7 separate regions of the Homo sapiens genome follow, and all the other regions are linked to region 1. Evidence: promoter capture Hi-C in 16 types of primary human blood cells and fetal thymus (Javierre and others, 2016). All regions are on one chromosome and are shown on one strand. The core of a region is centred on a gene start or on the middle of the fragment in contact, and the rest is flanking DNA. Distances in the headings are between cores, read along the strand shown. Region 1 holds the start of INTS12 (integrator complex subunit 12). Region 2 has its middle 280 kb from the start of TET2. Region 3 has its middle 230 kb from the start of TET2. Region 4 has its middle 170 kb from the start of TET2. Region 5 has its middle 82 kb from the start of TET2. Region 6 overlaps AIMP1 (aminoacyl tRNA synthetase complex interacting multifunctional protein 1). Region 7 overlaps TBCK (TBC1 domain containing kinase).

The links. The method cuts DNA at HindIII sites, captures the fragments that hold promoters and counts their contacts. A CHiCAGO score of 5 or more calls a contact.
Region 2: a fragment that was not itself captured here is called in contact with the fragment with the promoter of INTS12 in region 1 in 1 of 17 cell types (monocytes); the score reaches 5.2 in monocytes.
Region 3: a fragment that was not itself captured here is called in contact with the fragment with the promoter of INTS12 in region 1 in 2 of 17 cell types (total CD4 T cells and total B cells); the score reaches 5.6 in total CD4 T cells.
Region 4: a contact is called between a fragment that was not itself captured here and the fragment with the promoter of INTS12 in region 1, in 1 of 17 cell types (naive CD8 T cells). The highest score is 5.6, in naive CD8 T cells.
Region 5: a fragment that was not itself captured here is called in contact with the fragment with the promoter of INTS12 in region 1 in 1 of 17 cell types (total B cells); the score reaches 5.1 in total B cells.
Region 6: a fragment that was not itself captured here is called in contact with the fragment with the promoter of INTS12 in region 1 in 1 of 17 cell types (fetal thymus); the score reaches 5.4 in fetal thymus.
Region 7: a fragment that was not itself captured here is called in contact with the fragment with the promoter of INTS12 in region 1 in 4 of 17 cell types (total B cells, activated CD4 T cells, fetal thymus and 1 more); the score reaches 6.9 in total B cells.

The regions. Positions count from the first base shown.
Region 1 is chr4:105,707,147-105,710,156 of GRCh38, forward strand. It overlaps INTS12 (integrator complex subunit 12), which reads right to left and starts at 1,543. Exons shown (of 8, transcript NM_020395.4): 1 at 1,492-1,543. It overlaps GSTCD (glutathione S-transferase C-terminal domain containing), which reads left to right and starts at 1,638. Exons shown (of 12, transcript NM_001370181.1): 1 at 1,638-1,870. LOC124900747 (a long non-coding RNA gene) reads left to right here. Exons shown (of 2, transcript XR_007058214.1): 2 at 755-950. RefSeq lists an enhancer at 1,618-1,867. The HindIII fragment of the contact is 4,662 bases long and covers 1-2,649 here.
Region 2 is chr4:104,860,863-104,863,872 of GRCh38, forward strand. No RefSeq gene overlaps it. Among named protein-coding and RNA genes, the nearest start is that of TET2, 280 kb to the right of the region's middle. The HindIII fragment of the contact is 1,702 bases long and covers 726-2,427 here.
Region 3 is chr4:104,918,314-104,921,323 of GRCh38, forward strand. No RefSeq gene overlaps it. Among named protein-coding and RNA genes, the nearest start is that of TET2, 230 kb to the right of the region's middle. The HindIII fragment of the contact is 738 bases long and covers 1,134-1,871 here.
Region 4 is chr4:104,970,440-104,973,449 of GRCh38, forward strand. No RefSeq gene overlaps it. Among named protein-coding and RNA genes, the nearest start is that of TET2, 170 kb to the right of the region's middle. The HindIII fragment of the contact is 3,428 bases long and covers 1-3,010 here.
Region 5 is chr4:105,063,855-105,066,864 of GRCh38, forward strand. No RefSeq gene overlaps it. Among named protein-coding and RNA genes, the nearest start is that of TET2, 82 kb to the right of the region's middle. The HindIII fragment of the contact is 6,862 bases long and covers 1-3,010 here.
Region 6 is chr4:106,326,034-106,329,043 of GRCh38, forward strand. It overlaps AIMP1 (aminoacyl tRNA synthetase complex interacting multifunctional protein 1), which reads left to right. Exons shown (of 7, transcript NM_001142416.2): 3 at 1,418-1,531; 4 at 2,043-2,210. Among named protein-coding and RNA genes, the nearest start is that of AIMP1, 11 kb to the left of the region's middle. The HindIII fragment of the contact is 5,734 bases long and covers 1-3,010 here.
Region 7 is chr4:106,307,328-106,310,337 of GRCh38, forward strand. It overlaps TBCK (TBC1 domain containing kinase), which reads right to left. Exons shown (of 26, transcript NM_001163435.3): 2 at 1,441-1,662. The coding sequence starts at 1,633. Among named protein-coding and RNA genes, the nearest start is that of TBCK, 7.4 kb to the right of the region's middle. The HindIII fragment of the contact is 1,979 bases long and covers 438-2,416 here.

The DNA.
Region 1 (3,010 bases), core at 293-2,792:
CCTATTTTTATATATCTACATCCTATCAAGACCCTATTCAAATACTTCTCATGAAGATTTGACTGACAGCTGCTGTGCCCCTCTCCATTCCAAACCCTATTAATAGTCTCTCCATTCAAGGATATCTCATAGTGCTTTTTCATGGTATTGCAACTTTCTCCCTTGAAGCATTTTTTTTTTTTTTTGGCACAAGTGTTATGTCCCCTACAAAACTCTGAGTACTTTAAGGGCAGAGTCTATATTTATCTTTTTGCCTATCTCTTTGCCACTTTGCAAAGTACAACAAAATAATGGCTATAGAATTACTGGAATTAAGTGATCAAAGTATAGTGGTCTTATCTCTCCTTCTACACAATTGTAGCCATTTCCAAGGTCCCTTCAGCAAAAATCACAAAAGTAACTCACCCCTGCCCCCACAAAAAAAACTCCAAACATCAAAAAAGCAAAAGCAAAGCAATCACCTCTTTCACGACTGGGGACTTGTAGTACAATGTTCCTATCTGTAAAATTCTCACAATCTTTCGCCTGTCTTGCTTAATTCATTAATCCCACTGGTCTGTAAACTTGATGACAGCAGGAACTTGTTTTGTTCACTGTTATTTCCCTAGTGCTTGAAACTTAATAAGGGCTCAAAAATATTTATCGAATGAACGAACTAGGTTTTTTGCGTAAATGTCACCTTATAAGGCTTCTGTGATCTCTCCAGTCTAAATTGGGCATTCATATATAAATATAAGTATGTGCTTTCTCCTAGATCCATTTTTCACCCTACCTGGCAATCTCAAAAGAAGTCCAAAGTTGATCATATGCACGTGCCCCAGATGAAGGAAACAGAAACTGTTCACATAGAGTGCAGTATTATCGTTGCCATTTCATAATGGCTCTAAAAAACTTTGTTCTTCATGACTTCGCAAGCTCTTGCAACCCCTTCCAATAAACATTATTTTAAAGATGCTGCCTTTTTCATTCCTCCACTGAGTTCTTGGTTCTGGATAACACTGATACCTTAGGGACACCTGGAATCGCAGGAGAAAAGGCTCCGATTCCAAACCAATCAAGTGGCTGAAAGCTGACAGCAAACACTTAGAAAAGGAATGTCAATCCTTTGATCAAAGCATCACACATCGAAGTCCTAGAATGGGGGATGGTCCTTGACAGGGGAGCCAAAAGATGAGAGACAATGAGGGAGCTACGTAGAGAAGTCACTAAAACCCTCCGACAAAGTCCGAGGCAGGATTCCAAGTCCCTTGTCCCTAGACCTAGAAATATGCTCGGTCCGCATGTCCCGGCCCGCAACTCCCTCGGAGGAAGCACAGTCCTCACTGAAAGGGGAGAGCAGTCAGTCTAGGGCACGCAACCGCCCGTAAATTATGATTCCCCTTGAGGAGCGAGGAAACTAATACCCCACGTAGCTACTCTCCCACCTCGCTCCTGGCGCGGGGGTCTCGAGCCTCCAGGAGGCCAGGAGCAGAGTCGCTCAGCATAACTCACCGTTCCGCCCCGCCCTGCCGATCCGTCTGTTCCCGGTGGTCCCTTCGGAAACGGTTCCCGCACTGGCCGGCTCCGAAAGCAGGAAAACAAAGGTTCCCACAGTAGGGGCGGGGGAAACGTTTGGCAGTGCGACAGTAGGAAGTGACGTTACTTCCCTTTTTCCGGTCCGCCGGATTATGAATGACGGCCGGCGCGAGTATTTTCCACATAAGGTGGCTGTCGTTTTTCTCCTGGCGTCTGTGGAGGCGAGTGGTCTGCGGGCAGCAGCTCCCAGAGGCAGCCTTGGAATTCCAGCTCGGACTGGGCGGGAAGGCGCAGGCGGCCCAGGTCGCCGACACGCTCACGCACCCTCCCTGCCTGGCCGCGCCTCTGCGACCAGGTAAAGAGGGCGCTCGGGCCGCCGGCTTCTCAGCCTCCGCGACCCCCTAAGAACTGGTCTTTTCTTCGGGGGTCTGCAGGGCTGAGGATGCGGGGGAAGGGTGGGAAGGACAAGGGCGTGGTATCATCGTCCTGATTTTTCTCCCGCCCTGGGGCCGCCTCAAACTCCTTTTTGGCCACTCCTGCTGAAGGTGCGGGTTGAGGGCTCTGGGCTTCTCGGTAGTACGCGTTTCCCAGTTTCCCCCTAGCCAGTCCCTCATGTCTTCCTCTGCTGATGGAGAAATGGGGCAGCTTCCAGTTGGAGGCGTTGGTTGGGGTGGTTTGATATTTGCTGTTAAGTGTTACTTCAAGACCTCTTGGGTCACACTAACTTCTCTTCTCTCTTTGGCATTGAGTTTTCCATTCCAGCCCTTCCTGATTGCAGAAAGCAGTTCTATGTGAATACTACTTAACATTTACTCCAAAGGACTTGCTTCATTTGGGGCCATTTGCTTATGTTTTGTCATCACAGCAGTATCTCTTGGGTTTTTAACTTCTATAGAAAGTTTAATTTGCATGAAAGTTGCTTTGGTTTCAAAAACGTTTGCTAATACACGTACTTCCCATCCCAACTTTCTACCTGGTTTTGGGATGAGATGACTTGTTTTTTTCCCCTTTATTCTTAATGCCAGGATCCCATTCCTTGTCATAAATTCTTGAATATCAAGAAAATGCCAGCTTTAGTAATATATTGTGTGCTACATTATTGATAAAGAAGGTGGTGTATTTCTATTTTACCTAAGCTTATCTGTAAAAACAATGTTTACAGGAGAAAATGCAAAAGCTAGCAAGAACTAGTGATGTGATAATTTTAAACATGTAAACATAGTCATTTAAATCCATGATAATAAACTGTTATAACACAACTAAGTGATTCGCTGTCATATTTAATAAACATTAAGCTATGCGGGTTTTTTTTTCTTTTTTTTTAACTGCCTGATGGGGAGCATACACCACTGAGAGGATTGCTTTAAGCACACTCATTACTAAAAATTGTGTTTGTATTACACCTGAAAGTATCGTTTTGTGAGGTCTCACTTCAAAAATAAGACTGAAAAGGTCAATGAGATTTGAGAATCATCATTTCTTTTTATTTTATATA
Region 2 (3,010 bases), core at 327-2,826, 850 kb before region 1:
TCACAATGCCAATATGAAACTAGTTTACTCATTGCAAACATTATTTCAAAACATTTCACGAACCCAAGACAAAGCTTCTTCTAATGATATAGCTTTATATTTTTTTGTACAGAGCTTAATCACTATCTTGTTTAAAATTGTAAGCAACAGCCAGTGAGCATCAAACTTGGGTCCTCTCGATTATTTCTTAGAAGTCTCTGACTTACTGACCTCAAAATATATTATTTTCAAAGAAACTTAAGATCAGGAAAATGTTCTAACACTCTAGGTAATTATTTTGTTTCCACTCTAAATACTATCCCAAGGGTTAAATCTCTGTGACAGTTTTCTCCTAAGATATTTTCCACACAACTAAGGGCTCTAAACTTGTATTGCTATGCTAGAATATTAATCAGACACTCTACCTTCTAAGAATTCTTACAGAAAAGTTCAGGGAAAAAAATATTTTCCAGTATATTTGGGGGTCACCAAGTTTCCACCTAAGTGCTTAGAGGACATGGAACAGTTAACTCATACAGTACATGACTTGTTATTTTGTGGAATGTACTAAAATGATGTAGATATTATAATTCTTGCTCTGTGTTAGGGGTTTTAGAGAGGAAGTATTTCTCGATATAAGTTAACAGAATAATTATCAACGTCAGCAGTCAATATAAGCTCTCCAGCAGCAGCTAGACTATGGTCTCTTGGCGTGTTCTATTAGCTGGCCCACTCATGAGGTTCAAAGCTTTGCCAAGACTAGGAGGCCATTCTGTGTACAGATCAGTAGCCTGGCTCCATATAATGGTTGCCACAGCACCCCTCAACTCAACCCATTGTTCTGAAAATGCTATCAGTTAAATGCTATCCATAAACACTATCAGTTAAATACAAAAAAAAAATTGCAAGCTCTATTCTTATTCCATGTAGAGAAATTTGAAGAACATATTGTATTTATGTGAGTTCAGTGGTTATATTAATATGATGTTCCTTTCTTTTAAAACAAATAAAAAGCACCTCCATGATTAGGGTAAATTAAGGACAGGCATGCCTCAGAGATCTTGTGGGTTCTGTTCCAGAAAGCTGCAATAAAGGAAATATCACAATAAAGCGAGTCACATAATTTTTTTGTTTCCCTGCACACATAAAAGTTATGTTTACACTATATGGTAGTCTATTAAATGTTCAATAGCATTATGTCTAAAGAAACCATGTAAATATCTTAATTTAAAAATATTTTGTTGCTAAAAATGCTAACAATCATCTTAGCCTTCAGTGACTCTTAACTGTTCTGCCTGTGGAGGGTATTGCCTCAGTGCTGATCCCTGCTGACTGATCAGGGTAGGGGTTGCTGAAGGCTAGGGTGGCTGTAGCAATTTCTTCAAGTAAGACAACAATGAAGTTTGCTGCATAGATTGACTCTTCCTGTCACAAGAGTTTTCTCTGTAGAATGTGACGCTATTTGATAGCATTTTACCCACATAATACCTCTTTCAAAACTGGATTCTGTCCCCTTAACCTAGGCAGCTACTTTGTCAACTCAGTTTCTGTAATATTCTAAATCCTTTGTTGTTATTTCAACAATTTTCATAGCATCTCCCTCAGGTGTAGACTCCATCTCAAGGGACCAGTAGGTCTCAACAGTGGGCTTAAAATATTCAGTGAACCATTCTGTAAATAAATGTGCTGTCATCCAGGCTTTGTTCTGTTATTTATAGACCACTGGCAGAGTAAATTTAGCTTAATTTTTAAGGGCCCCAGGATTTTCAGAATGCTAAATGAGCATTAGCTTAAACTTAAAGTTACCAGCTGCATTAGCCCCTAATAAGAGGGCCAATCTTTGAAACTTAGAAACCAAACACTAACTTCTACTTCTATCTATCTAGGAAAGTCCTAGATGGCATCTTCTTTCAAGATTTTTCATCTTTCAAGGCTTTTATAACTACATTGAAAATCTGTTGTTTAGTGTAGCCATCTTCATCAATGATCTTAGCTAGCTAAGTCTTCTGGATAACTTACTGCAAATTCTCCATCAGCATTTGCAGCCTTATCTTATACTTTTATGTTACAGAAATGGCTTCTTTCCGTAAAACCTCAGAAACCAACTTTTTTTTGTGAGGTTTTCTTCTTCCAACTTCCTGCTAGCTTCCAATTTTTCTTCTACAGCCATTTCACCTCTATCCACCTTCACAGAATTGAAGAGAGTTAGGGCCTTGCTCTGGATTAGAATTTGATTTAAGGTAATGCTGTGGCTGGTTTGATCTTCTCTCCAATTAAAACTTTTTCCATATCAGCAATAATCTGTTTTGTTTTCTTATCATTCGGGTCTTCACTAGAATAGCACTTTTCCTTTAGAAACTTTTCCTTTGCATCCACAACTTGGCTACCATTTGACACAAGATGACTAGCTATCAGCCTATTTCAGCTTTGGACATGCCTTTCTCACTAAGCTTAATCATTTCTAACTTTCCACCTAAATTGAAAGATGCATGACTCTTTCTTTCACTTGAACACTTAGAAATCATTGCAGGGTTATTAATTGGCCTAAAATCAATATTGCTGTGCCTTAGAGAATAGAAAGGCCTAAAGAGAGGGAAAGAAATAGGGGAATGGCGGCCGGGCGCGGTGGCTCACGCCTGTAATCCCAGCACTTTGGGAGGCCGAGGCGGGTGGATCATGAGGTCAGGAGATCGAGACCATCCTGGCTAACAAGGTGAAACCCCGTCTCTACTAAAAATACAAAAAATTAGCCGGGCGCGGTGGCGGGCGCCTGTAGTCCCAGCTACTCGGGAGGCTGAGGCAGGAGAATGGCGTGAACCCGGGAAGCGGAGCTTGCAGTGAGCCGAGATTGCGCCACTGCAGTCCGCAGTCCGGCCTGGGCGACAGAGCGAGACTCCGTCTCAAAAAAAAAAAAAAAAAAAAAAAAAAAAGAAATAGGGGAATGGCTGGTCAGTGAAGCAGTCAGAACACACACAACATTTACGGATTAAGTTTACTACCTTATTTGGCCATGGTTCATGGCACCCTAAAA
Region 3 (3,010 bases), core at 253-2,752, 790 kb before region 1:
ATTAAGTTTATATGGATCACATCATTTAGATAGATTTATTCCATATGCCTACAAGAACTGGCAGAAAAAGCAGACTTTTTGTAAGCATTTGAAGTGTAAGACATGAAAATTATATTGTGAAACTATTTTGTTGTAATTTACTATTAAGTTTTTCTTGAAAAATAAGATCCTGGTCTCTCTCAAACAGTGACAAGTTTTCATGGAACGGTCAAGCACTTTATGCAAAATTCACATCCTACTTAGTTAAGTGGACAAGAATCATCCCCATAAATTATTAAATTCCCTCCCATCTGGATATTTTATGTTAACCACAGTGAACATTAATATATTTTATTCAGTAATATATCTGTTATATATGAATGGTGATCTGCTAAATAATTTACTATTTATGGAGAACATTTTGATAAATTATTACTGTCATTATTGCAGAAATTAAACTATTCTTTAGAGTCCAATTTTAATATATTTTCAAGCATTTCTTGAACAGTAATTATTTTGTATCTATTATGTGTAAGGTGCAGAAGGAGATTTTTTAAAAAAATAAAAAACTATCACTTGTAAAATAATTACCAGTTGGTGGGTAGAGAAAAAATTTATTTTGACCAGAGTAAAATTTATTCTGACCACAGGCACAAGATTTTTAATGTACAAATCCCAGCTGTCAATACATGAAGTTTCCCTGAACCTTTTCACTTTTCTTTTGTTAAGAACTCTCATCCAGCATCTAGCAGGCGCTGGATTCCTACCGGCCCTGCAGTTTAGTTTTCCTACACAGTTAATAGTAATTAGCTATTGTCCTCATCATCACTTCCAAACATGCTATTAGTTTTCCAGTGGGCATTGATTCTGTAATATGCAATCTAACCTTCTAACCACTATAGCACAGAATAACCAGGGAATTATCCCCTAGGAAAACAGGAGTTCTTTTCACCTCTAAGTCAATGATCATTAAAAACAACCAATACACTGTGAAGCTTGACAAATCACAATGGGAATAGGGACCCAACAAATTGCAGTGGTGAAGTCACAATTATCTAGCAATTAGGTTTATAGCTGTATCCACCCTTTAAATAATCAAGTCTACAAATGTACCCACACTTCTTCCTGCAGAACTTAATCTGGAAGGTTTCTAAAGCTTTCTTTCTTATTCAGGTTTCTGAAAGCAATTGCATCTGAGTGAAGTAATAATGACAAACCTTATGAAGCAGAAAGAACAGTAATTCATTTACTTAAGACTAATTTTTAAAAGGGGAGAATAATTGCCAAGCTCTATTTCCAAATGGAATATGTTCTGAGTCATCATAAAAATTTGGCTGCCAGAAGAGTATCTAGTTTAGTAAATAATGAAGGTGAATGCCCAATGTTTTTGGAATGCTTTCAGCAACAGGTAACAAACAGGAAGCCTGACTACAGTGGCTTGAAAAAAATGAGAAGTATTTTTCTCCCATAATGAGAAATCCAGAGTTTAGCAGTGCTGGGCTGGTTCAGCAGATCAATGATGCCAAAGACTCTGAGATCACTTTACTTTGTCCTCACAATTACAAAAAAGCTGTTGTGGCTTCTACAATTATATCCCCTTTCCAACAAGAAGAAAGAGGATGTAGCAAGGAGAATGGGTGGTACCAATATTTGAAAGTAAAAGTTTTATTAGGAAGCTCCCAGGAAACTTCTGTGTATGTTTCTTTGGCTATAATTTTGCCCCGGAGCCAGTCCTTGCAGAAAGGTGGCTGGAGAGAAAAGAGATGCAGAGAGAAAAAGAAGAGCAGCTTTTGACATTTCAGAAACTGCAGCTATATAGCTAGGCCTTGATGTTGTGAAAAGCTAGCTATGTTCATAAATAGGCCTTGATGATATCCTGTTGAACATAAACAAGCTTCCAAATCACCAACATCAGTGACCATGATGAACTGAAAAAAAAAAAAGACCACTCTATAACCTTGTCTAAGCACATAAACAAGATCATTGTGCAAACCACAAAAATACCAAGCACCTTCATAGCCTGGCTAATATCAGTAGCTGCTGCTTCTTTCCCAGTTTGATTCTTTAGCCTCACTTTATTTTTCCCATATTATAGATAAGATTTTTAAAATAAGCAATCATATATTTACCCCCAATTCCTGATAGCATCCAATTCAGAGCAAAGCCACTTTCTTAAGCCCTCCCCAAAAATCACCTGAGACCAGATCCTGTAATAATCCTTCCAAACACCCTCTTACTGAAATGCCCCACATTTCCCATGGTGTGTGGTCTCCTTTCTTGCATCTATTAATAAGTCAGACTTGCTCGATTACAGGTATGTTCCTGGTGGTCTTTAGCTGGATGACATTAACAACAGATTGGATCAACCAAACCACAGTATTTGTCACACCTTTGTTTCATTCTAGTCTATTTATAATTAAAATGATGTGCCTTAATATGGCATGCTTCAAAATCCTTAGCTAGAAAAGTAGCCATGGTATACTGAACAGAGCATATGATGAACCATCAGGGGATAAACACTCTAGTCCACTCTGCCTAATTAGTTAAGTGACCCTGGGAAAGTCATTTAAAATGAGAGGAACTGACCTCACAATAATCCAAAGAACCCACTAACACTCACATGTCTGAGAAATGGCGTAAAAATAAAGCTCCAAGAAATTAAGTACATTTTCCTTCTATTTACATTTTGTAAGTGGCAGAACCAGGATTTGAACCCGGGCAGAGTCTAAAAGCTTTCCATTGTACCATGTTGCCTCAACAGGCCCCAGCTTCCTCTATGAACTGACTAGGTTGGTAAACCAGAACCAGAATCTAGTAATGGCCCTTTTCATTCACCAAAGATTCTGAATGACAATTAATAATATTTATATTTATTCTTTTTTAGTCCCACCAGGTCTGTAGATGAAAGGTGCAAGACTAATTCGAGGTAATGTGCGTTTATGGAGTTTTGATTTTTAGCAAGCGCTTTTCTACATAGCATAAATCATAGATTTGATCTATCATTTGAACATCCAAGTCAAATCAATTTTCA
Region 4 (3,010 bases), core at 177-2,676, 740 kb before region 1:
CTGTAGAAAATAGAAAAATACTGACTTAAAATACTGAAAGAAAATTAATGGTTTCTGGGAAAAGCCTGATATTCAGAAAAAAATAAGATGCTTTGCATGCAAATATTCTTGCTAAAAAATATAATTTTTCAGAAAAATTATAACTTTGCTGCCACATATCTGATGATGTAGAATTCATATTAAGCATTAAAAAGACACTTAAATTTAAATATCAAGGATTTCCATTTGCAATTCTAAGGTACAGGTAAAATTGTTTTTAGAATACTCCCATTCTCAAAAGAAAGGACCCAAAACAGCAAGATATTTTCTTATATCAAAAATTTTTAAATTTATTTTTTTATACTTGTAAACATACCCTTCACGTATAAAATTGAAGAAATTCCTGATTAGTTGATGCTGAATGTTAACCTATAGATAAAAATAAATACATTTCAGCATTTTAGTACAGTGAGAAGGGGAACTGGTATAGAGTTTGAATATAAAAATAGAACACAAAATTCAACCTAATGAATAAATGTGAAACAGGTCACTGTTTTCTGAATCACTTAATTTTGCCATCATTCACAAGCTAAACTGGCCATCCTTTACTTGATACTATGTAGACTGTGAATCCCCAGTGACTTTTAAATAAAGAGCTAGTTAGATTAATTTAGTTGAGCATCTTCTTGTCCTCACTGAGAATGAACTCCCTCTGCTCACAGGCATCTCATCATCATACAGCTCAACTTTTGTTCCTGTTTCTCTATTTGACCTGATTATTGTCTTACTTCACTAAACCTAGCTATCTTTCTTTCAAGTATCACATCTTCCATGCAGCTCTTCCAAACCGCCAAACTCTCTTTTCCTCTCTCTTGATCTTAGTAGCATCACAAAGCCACACCCAATGGGAAAGGAAGGTGGAAAAGCAGCTCCACTGGTGGGTTAGATATGTTTGTTTTTTTATGTTCATCCTGGCAATCACACCTGATGACAACACGAACATCATCTGGTGCCTGATAGCTATTCTCCTGCAGAGAAAATAAAGAGAAATATTTCCTATGTGCTGACTATATACAGATACTTCCTACATGTCATAATTAATGCACACAAAACCTGTTGGCTAGGGGCCATCCCTTAGATGATGTCTTTATGTTGTATCTTACTAAGTCCCCCATTACAAATCAGAAGGAGCATCAAGATGTCTCAATCTCCTACAGAAAAGAAAGGGTCAACATGCCATAAAATCATTGTCATTGGCAAACTTTCTCAAAATTCAATTAGTCACCATAAGATCATACCACATCACAAACCGGTTATGTGAGAATGCATATTATGGAATAGGCATGTCCAGACAGCATGATACTTAGAATCAGACTTTCCCAGGCGCCCTACAGAAATTTGTTTTTCTATGTCAAGAATGAATAAAACACATCTGCTTTAAAATTCTTCCAGACCAAAATAGTATTAACATAGCACCTATCAAATCTGAGAAAAATAACTGACAACAGTTGACAGACATATTAACCATTTATGTTCTAGCAATCTATTTATTCACGTTCCTGACTCTTACATTCTAGAAAGCAGTATACTCAGTCCTTATAGTCTCTAACATTAAATTTACATTTTATTGTTTGGTCCTCAACTTCTCAAAACACACTCCCAAGAAATCACTTTTGAAGTCGACTACCACAATTGCTATAAATTAGTAAGCTGGTTTACTCACTGCTCCAACAGCAACTCTGAGGTAAGTTTGGAGCTGAATAAAAGAAACTATAACAACACTCATTTTTGCAGACATATTTTCTTTGGCCTTGATTTTCTGTTTACATTTAGCTCAGTTGTTTAAAGTTACTTGTAATTATAAGTTCCCTTATTGCCTATGATAGTCATTATATACATAAATTTAATAAATAAATGCTCAGCACTATTATGTTTGTGTAACTGAAGTAATTATTTGTTTATTCTCTGCAATTCTATAAAAGGAAACATTCTAACACGCAAATCTTACTGTATCACTCCCTGGCTAAAAATCCTCCCGTGACTGCGACTAGATCCAGAATTAAGTCCAAGTTTATAAGTGTAATTTACCACTGCGTTTATAAAAGTACACAAAGCTCCTGTCTTTCTTTCCTGCTGTCTCAAGAAAGTTCCATCTCTAGACCTATTCTGGATCTTTTAGGATGTAGTCATCAGGAGGTTAGACAAAGAAAAGACCAGAGAATGAGAAAGACTTGGAGACATTAAGTAAACTTAATAAAGAGATAAGTGAAAAGGAAAGAGAGGGAGAAGGGAAAAGATGAGAGCTGAATGTCGCGAAAATACTGAAGGATTAAGAATTTACAGAGGTAGTTTTTAGGTGTTAGAAAATAGGAGGAATAGAAAATAGAAATTGGATAGAGGAAAGTGAGGATTTTTATATTTTTTGAGAAGTACAATTTTTAAGATTAGAGTTGCTTGATGATTTTTTGATTACTTAGACTGGGCTTTTTTAGAGGCCCCCCCCATAAAGAAACTGGGCTACGTGGGACTGTGGGATCTATTAGGATTATAGAAGTAAAATGCCCTAATCTTTTTCTCATTTGGCCACCATGAAAGCACTAATCCTTTTTTCACTGGGCCTCCTTAGCCCATCACACTCGCTCTGGCTCCAATACTTGCTGACAGTTTATAGAGGCCACCATGATTATTCTCACATCCAAGTCACTGCACTTGTCAAATATTGCTCTGTCTACCTAGAGCACTCACAGTCACTCCCTCTTTTAACACTAAAGTCTACAGTTTCTTCAACAATCAGCTTAGTTATTCTACAGGAAGCCTTTACTCCCACCTCTCTTACATTCTCAGTTAAGATCTGGTAGATACACATACAGGGAACACAGAGAAAGCACATGTCAGCTTTATCAGTCTGTTTACTTCAGACTCTCTCATTACCCTGAGCTTTATGAGAGCAAGATGGTAAAGAACAATAAAACAACAAACAAACAACAACAACAAAAACCAATAGAAAATGATTCATAAAGAAGCTAGTATC
Region 5 (3,010 bases), core at 308-2,807, 640 kb before region 1:
TCTTAGTGAAAAAGCCCTCCCAAAGAGAAATCCAGGGAAAATAGCAATAATAATGCAAAACATTCAACTATATAATTTCCAAGACTTTCACTTCACTGTGTAGTCAAGTAACACTATTATTCATTTCACAGCTATAGATCAATTTGCTCATGTGTGAAACCTAGGAAATACAACCATTTTCTCTTCAGATGAGTAATCCTGGTTTGAGTTACCCATACAATTTCATAAAAATACATTATTCCAGATGGACTCCAGTTGCTGGGCAGATGGAAATGCTTAAGTAAAGGACTAAAAACTTCATTATCCTAAATTAGGTAGTCAGAGAGAAAAAGTATGAATATAACTATAACCCAAATAATTTTTAAGTTTTATGAATATTTTTAAAAATTCTACTTTCAGGAGAAAAGAACTTGAAAAATAATTACACATATTTAAGTATTTAAAAAGTATATACTTTTACAGTCAAGTTTTTAATCAATTAGTTGTAGCTACCATAATTATATTTCTCATAGTCACTTTCCATTTTTACATACTGAGCCAACCTGTCCATAAGCCAAGCTCAGGTTTATCTCATTCCTTCAGTTGATTGGACAGGATTTCCCCACAGGCACAGGTGCAATTTCTGTAAGCATCACTGCTGTGACTGTGATGGTTAATGTGGGAGTCTTGTCTACCTTCCCACATAGCTTACCTGTGCTCATTGTCATTGCATATGACATTTCTGGATGTACATTTCTATCTAATGAGAGACTGCTGCTCAGCCCATTCATATTTATGCTTTGGCCAGTCTGACAGAAGTTAGCTCATAATGGGCAGGACAATTGGTGTCCCATGGTCAAGAGCTCCGTCCCTAGCAGGATCTAATATTGTTCCAGGAGCTTCTTTGGACCTCTAAAAACTTCACTGAAATGACAGGTCTCTAAAACATCATGAGGTTTATCTCCCACACTCAGGCATTGCCACCTCTTACTGCAAAGGAATGAGCCACCTCTGTAAACTTTGAACATTCAGGGATGTATACAGAGCCAAAATCCTCTGGGGGAATCTACCCATTATGTCTTCATCCCATGTTTTAAGATCCTAGGTTTTCATCCATGGTCTGCCTTGGCTGAGCATGTAAGTATCTCTGATGCTCTGGAATTCTACTTGTCAAATCCTGGAGTCTGTTTTTCAGCTGTTCATTATTCCACTGCAGGGGAAAAGAGACCCTTCTTAAATCACCAGAGAGGTTCTCTAACTCTTGCCCTTAGCAGTAGTTTGTTAATGGTTCTCTGTTTCTCATTATCCCATTGCAGAGCATCAATATAACAGTAATGCCCAGCCAACACTCTGTCCTTGTGCTCCCCACCGCCATCTCTCTTTCAAATCCTTGAATCATTATAACTGCAAGGGCATTTTCCATTGGGATGTTTCCTCAAGTCACCCCTGATGAATTGTTCAGCGATTGGATTTTCACTTTGTGCCAGGGACTATCTAGGCCCCACATTCCTCTCATGATGCAGTCCTCCTTGCCTGTCGAGAAATGAGTGAGCCAGGCCCCAAGCTCCATCTTGCCACTTGACTTATCAGAACATGTTTGGTTTCTGCCATGTCAACTCAGGTCAACCCAGGAGGAGCTAACAAAACAGGATTACACATGTAAGATATATATTGGGGGAAACTCCTGTGAAAGATGAAGAAGGAAGGGGCAGGAGTAGAGAGGGCCTTCAGACCACAGTGAAGAATTGGCTTCTGTAAAAAGAGAAATAGAATGTTTGTAATCCTGGTCCAGACCATCTCTAACTCTGTAACTCTCCTATTTCCACATCTTTTGACCACAAAGTTGTTAGAAGAACTGGAGATCGATGTACATGGGAAGGCCCAGCTCAAGCTCTGTGCAGAGTGGGTCCTTAGCAACTGTTACGTTATGTGTTCACTGCACAGAACAGGGGAGTAATAAGCAGAGCCCTGGGTTTCCTTCAAAGAAATGCAGTGACCCTTATTTCATGTGTAGGCAGGTAGATATGGAGGCTGCCCCTCTCTGCATCTACAACAAGCCCTGTTTCTCATTAAAGTCAACGTTGAACACTATGTTTTAAATAACACAAGGAAGAAAACAGGATGCACTTATCTCCTTAGACATGACCTCAAAATGTATTCTTCTTTATAACTGTTATTACTAACTAAAATACATCCTTCCTATTCTTTCTTTGGAAAGAAGAAAAATAAGGCTTGTGATGGAAGGTAGGATAAAGCCAGCACATATTGAGTGATGATATGTGCCAGGTACTACTTTAGGTACTTTATGAATGTTTTCTTTCTTCATCCTTACACTCTTTGGAGTTAGAATTATCCACACCTTACATAAGAAAACAATCAAGGTTATAGAAATTAAATAACTTGTCCATAGTATTGCAGTTAATTATCAGAAATGACTATTGACTCTGAAACTTTGTATATTTCAGTTTTGCAAAAATCTTATCTGTGAGGTGGACTTTAATTCAAGAATTATAGAAATGTTTTGGTTGAAATAATTTTTTTAATAAAAAAGAATTTTTTCCTATGTTATGTATTTAAAATCTATAATGAATTTTGGCCCTATCTCTGTTAAAACCACATTGTTTTAAATACTTAGTTGCTCATAAATCTATTTCTCCTCATTATAAACCCTTGAGGGAGACTATTATATCTAATTCATCTCATCCTAACCAACTAAAATTAGGCCTAAATGTCATATGCACTCAATTTATGTATGCTGAGCCAAATAGGATAATTCAAACAACTCAGTTCATTTTTCTGCTAATTCTCCACTTACTCTGATACAGCAAATTAGAATGATAGAGAGGAAAACATATCCTCTTCTTTATTCCATGGGACCCATATCATAGTGGACAGCCTCTCTCAAAAAAGCCTTAAAACTCTTCCATTTTTTGAGAACCCATAGTTGTTTAACTAGCTTGTCCTGGCTGAAAGATAGATGTGGATTATAAGAATCAACAGGAAATCCTCATTGCAGGTACACATCTCCTAA
Region 6 (3,010 bases), core at 300-2,799, 620 kb after region 1:
TATAGGTATATAGTCAGACTGCCTTTGTGTAGGTGTCTCAGATACCAGAAGCAGATAGTGATATAGATGATTTATTCAAACTGATGAGTGATTGATTAGATAGTATTTTGAATAAAACAAGGTACAGTCTACTCTTGATTTATGTGGTACTTGATTCATAGAAAATTTAGGGTATAATAAGCATGCTTAAAAACACTTTGTGTTTATATATAAAGAATAGTTAAAAATCTAGACTCAAATAATTATTAATAGGATTTTTACTTATACAAATTTATGATAGGCCACTATAAAGTTCTGCAGGATGTGAAACAGTTCTTCATTTTGCAGGAGTATCCAGCATACTGCAGGACATCTGACATTCTTGGCTTCTGCCCAATAAATGCCAGTACTAACAATCAAAAATAATCCTACAGATTTTCAAAATCCTACCTACAAAGCAGTACCAACCCCACTGAGAACCATTATTTTTCTCTTATACTTTTGTTACCCCATTGCACACTTTTAACACATACATTATATTTTGAGCAAATCCTTGAGTTATTTCACTCATTGAATGTTTGATTAGCTTAACTCAGACTTTAGCAATATTCAGCTTCTTTTAAAAGGTAATGACTAAAAAGAAAGACATGAGAATAGTTTTTGCTTGTGTGGTAACATCTCAGAATTTTTTTAAAAATATATATATAATTTAATATAATGCTTCTCTTTTTTTTCAGCATCTGTTATTGACATTTTATCTTTTATTTTTAAAAATTTTTTTGAGACAGGGTCTTGCTCTGTTACCCAGGCTGGAATACAGTGGCACTATCTCAACTCACACTGCAGGCTCAATCTCCAAGCCTCGATCAGTCCTCCCACCTCAGCCTCCTGAGTAGCTGGGACCACATGAATGTACCACAACCCCCAGCTACTTTTTGTATTTATTGTAGAGATGGGTTTTGCCATGTTGCCCAGGCTGGTCTCAAACTCCTGGGCTCAAGTGATCCTCTTGCCTCAGCCTTTGAAAGTGCTGGGATTATGGGATTACAGGCATGAGCCACTACACCTGGCCACATATTGACACTTTTGTGCCAGCTTCTTAAGTTATTTGCCATTGCCTTTTATTATAGCCGCAATGCTGAAAAGGTGGTAATTTGATCTTAGTTAGCATCTTAATAGGAGCTAGGAAAATGATTCATAAACAAAGTCTTTCTGTTTTACTCTTATTTCATATATTTTCTCCCTCTCTCTCTCTCTCTCTTAAATAGCATGTTGTTTTAATAAATATTAAACTGGCATAAAGGCACTGGCCAAACATTTGGTTACACTAGAGCTAGTATTATCCTAGCTGTAGTTATACTGGCTGTCTTCTTTTCAAATAGTATTCATACAAAACCTCTTTTAAAAACATATTTTAACTGGATGTTCTTGATCCTAGTTTTGCAGGCAACTTTGAGGGAAGAGAAGAAACTTCGAGTTGAAAATGCTAAACTGAAGAAAGAAATTGAAGAACTGAAACAAGAGCTAATTCAGGCAGAAATTCAAAATGGAGGTAATTAAATATAGAAAATTTGAGTAATCCAGAAGTTAAGAAGTTGGCCAGTCACACCAACAGTGAGGAAAGAAGTAAGAATCTGTATCTAGGCAACTTGGACAACTTCATAACTTCTAAATGACTCAGATTTATCAATAAAATGGGGGCATGGATAGAACCTACTTCTTAGAGTATGAGAATTACATGAGTTAATTTGTATAAAGCATTTTGAAAAGTGTTTGGGGCATAGTAAGTTCATAATAAATGTTAGCTGTTCTTATTTGCAGGTTTCTCGGTTTAGTAATTGATTAAATGGGAATCATGCCTTTATTCTTTGATACCTCAATTATGGCTAAAATATGCCTAATTTTTTGGCAGCCATTTTATAGTCTCAGACAGTGGATATTTGATAGCCATATACAGTGAATTTTTCATTTAAAAAGAGTTCCCATTTGTGGTTCACAATTTCATATTTTTTGTCATATTTATTGGTTTAATATGAATGACATTATTTCATTTTCTGTCTCAGTGAAGCAAATACCATTTCCATCTGGTACTCCACTGCACGCTAATTCTATGGTTTCTGAAAATGTGATACAGTCTACAGCAGTAACAACCGTATCTTCTGGTACCAAAGAACAGATAAAAGGAGGAACAGGAGACGAAAAGAAAGCGAAAGAGAAAATTGAAAAGAAAGGTATTTTTGACCTTTAAGCATATTTAGCTCTTGACTGGATTATCAGAAAATGTCAAGTTTTGATAATGATAATAATAATAGTATCAAAAGTAAAGTTCAACTTTCATGAGCTAGGATAAAATTAGGAACAATATGATATTGGAACATAAAAGCTGGGTCCTAAATGGTGTGTGAATATTGACCAGATTAACGGGGTAAAAATGTGGCATTTTAGGCAGAGGGACTGGCATAAGTTAAAACAGACTGTAAAGGTTAAGTGTAGAAACCCATATGTAGTTTGGTATGGCTGAATTTTGGTATCTATTTGTGGTATAGTTTGAGAGAAGTCACAGATAGGAAACTAGCTTAGGACCAGTTGTGAAGATAGGAAAAGAACATTCCACCAGTCAAAACAGACTGTCTGAACTAAGATTTCAAGAATCCATGAGAACTAAAGTAGATAGAAATGTCACCATCCACTTAGGCAACAACCCTTGAAATTTAGTCATCAACCTTAACCTGTCCCTATTCCCTGTTCTTCATATCTAATTAACCAACAAATTCTATTATTCCTGTCCCCAAAACATACATAGACCCCAGCTCTGCTCTTTCTTTTCATTAGGTCCTACCTCAGTTCAGGTTTTCAACGATCTTTCATCTGAATTAATATTAAAGCCTCATCTTTTCTAGTTTATTTTTAGCCTTGCTGCTAAAGCTATTTATTCTAATTGTAAATCTGACTTCCTTTCCCCAGATATGTCTAAAAAGTTGCCTTTATAAATAATTATGAATATTTCTCATTATACTTAAACTTATTTACT
Region 7 (3,010 bases), core at 177-2,676, 600 kb after region 1:
CAAGGATTAAGTTAATTAAAATATGTAATTAAAATATGTAAAACACTAAGAATATTGCCTTATATAAACGCTCAATAAATTTTAACGATTAATAATTATCATTACAAAAAAAATTTCTACTCAGTCTATAAAACACAAATATTCTCAGAGTAAATATTTTAAGAGAAATAAACCAGGGAACTTGAAAGTACAGTTTAGTCTATTTTCAGCAAAACAGTAAAGAAAACATTGTTTGCATTTATCAGGGTTTTTAATATTAGGTTGAAACACATAAAATTGCCACTTTTATAGGGAAAAAGTTGAATATCACCAACTACATAGGGTTTACTTTCAGATTTTTTTACGTCTACAAATTATTTTATGTTAGAAAAATTAAATACATTTCACTGAAATGCATTTAAAATATTTTTAAGAAATGCAACCTTACCCTGCAATTAAGCTTCCAAAAATAATTCTGAAATAATTAAAAATATTGCCACCATAAGAATCTTTAAGTGGAGAATGAAAGAACCTGATTACACTACTAAAAACGCAGTAAACATCTTCCTCAAACACTGACTTTTTAACCAATAGGGTTCAACTTTTCTAATTCAGTTCTCTAAATGGGCTGCTATATAAAAAGACTAATGGAGTTTAAAAAAAAAAATCTACTGACTCCCTTTTCATTTGAAGACAGTTGCCAAAATCATTACTTTCAATCATAAAATATATTGTTAGATAATTCTTCTAAAGTTCCTAACATTAGAACTTCATTTCCTTCATATAGATAAAGAAATATGTTTAAGAATAGACGGTTTCCCTGAAAAAGAAAATTAAAAATCCTGATTCTCAGATCTGAGAAACATTAATCATTCAAATATAGTTGTTAATTCATTCATTCAGCTAACAAACACTTATTGAGTGCTCTGAGGTCACAAGTAAAGGTCCTTATCCTCAAGAACTAAGAATCCTCAGAGGAGAAAAATTAAATAGAAAATAATAAAATGTGATAAAAGCTATAAAAGAACTTAGGAAAAAGACTTAGCTCAGATTGCAGGGAATGGAGCATAGCATAATCCATGAGAGAAAATTGCAAAGTACAAAATCAAGGATATGTGAATCAAAAAACCTCAAAGCAACTCAGCTTGGCTGGCATGAAGGGTTAAATTAGTGGAAACAACAAGCAATACATCGAAAGAGGACAGCACAGACTAGATCAAGGACTAGATGAAGGATTTTGTATGCAATAGCCTAGTAAAGAGTTTGAATTTTACCTGGTAGATTTGCAAGTAAATGGGGAAGTGTACGAGAGAGAGGCAGGGTGGGGGAAAAGGATGAGAGAAAGAAGGACATGTGTGCACTGGTACTGATGATAGCTTTATATATTTAGTGGATATAGTATTTATAACTTAGGGTAACAAAGTAGAGAACATAAATAGGAAAAAAAAGAAAATAACTTACCATGCTTTCCCCTAGAAATATCCACATACTGGCAGAGTCTGGGATGGGTGATGGTTTTAAGGATTTGAAAGCGCCCTAAAATTTTGATGGAATTTGGTGTGAGAGGAAGTCCATTGCTTCCACAAACATCATGTGGCAGAGCCGAGGCAAAGAAGGTAAAGGCTCCCATTTCAGCGTCCTTCAGGGGAAACATTTTTGGAGTCCTAGGTCTTCTAAGATAATCTGGAAAAGGAGAGAATTTTAGGACAGACCAAACATTAAGCCAGACAGACCAAATCTTAAGCATGATTAACATACAACTTGGAGGAAAATGCCAACCTGAACACTTCACAGTAAAAATATCAAAGTATAAGAAAATTCTAAAATATCAGAGGACAAAACAACTCAGCATAAATTTATATTGCAGCTCTAAATCAAACTCTAAGATTTTCAATGGCATAAAAAAGAAAAGATTATTCCATTCTCAATGACATTTGACAGTTTAAAGAGTAGAGGAAGTTTGTTACTGCATCTTCATATTATTAATAAGGCTCTTCTCTTTTTTTTTTTTTTTTTTTTTTTTTTTGAGACAGTCTCGCACTGTCACCCAGGCTGGAGTGCAGTGGTGTGATCTCCGCGCACTGCAACCTCTGCCTCCCGGGTTCAAGCAATTCTCCTTCCTCAGCCTCCCGAGTAGAGGCACCCACGACCACACCCAGTTAACTTTTTGTATTTTTAGTAGAGATGGGGTTTCACTATGTTGGCCAGGCTGGTCTTGAACTCCTGACCTCGTGATCCACCCGCCTCGGCCTCTCAAAGTGCTGGGATTACAGGCGTGAGCCACCACACCCAGCCAATAAGGCTCCTCTCTTTACCTAAAGATTGAATAACCCACACACCACTGACAACCTTCCTTCTCATACAGTGAGGTAGGTCAGGAAAGAGGAAATATAGGTACCAACTAGTAACGAATAGGGGACCTTATTAATAGTAGTAAAGCTTAAACTAGATTAAAAGAAGGCTCTATAATATTAAATAACCAATTTTCATTTTTATGCTAGATATTTTACATAATGTATGATCTGCTTTAATCCTTTTAATAATCCTGACAGAGCTATTGGCTCCAGTTTAGAGATAGTTGTTCCATGTGTATAGCATGAGGCGTCCTATTTGCACTTACTCCAAAATAAATGGTGCCCCAAAGTTGCGTAAAGTAGTAGCCTGGAGAGTAGGAAACTTGCTCCATATCAATCTGAATCACATTAAGGCAACCATAACAACAAAAAAAAGGGTCTTCTGACACAAAAATCTTTTACCCATGGACCTCACTAAGAAGACATTCTACTGGTAAAGCCCTGCATTTTTCCCTTCTCAGCTTAATGATAAATATGCTGGAATTCCAATTCAATAAATCCACTTTGACAAGAAACCTTACTGAAATCATTAAAAATAAAATATTATAAAACGTATAAACCCTTAACAAGGAAGAAAAGAGAAACAGGCCATGAGGTGATGAAAGATTTCTAGAAACTTGTACAAAACAAAATATATAAGGAAGAGTGAAGCAGAAAGAAATAAGCTACAACCTGTA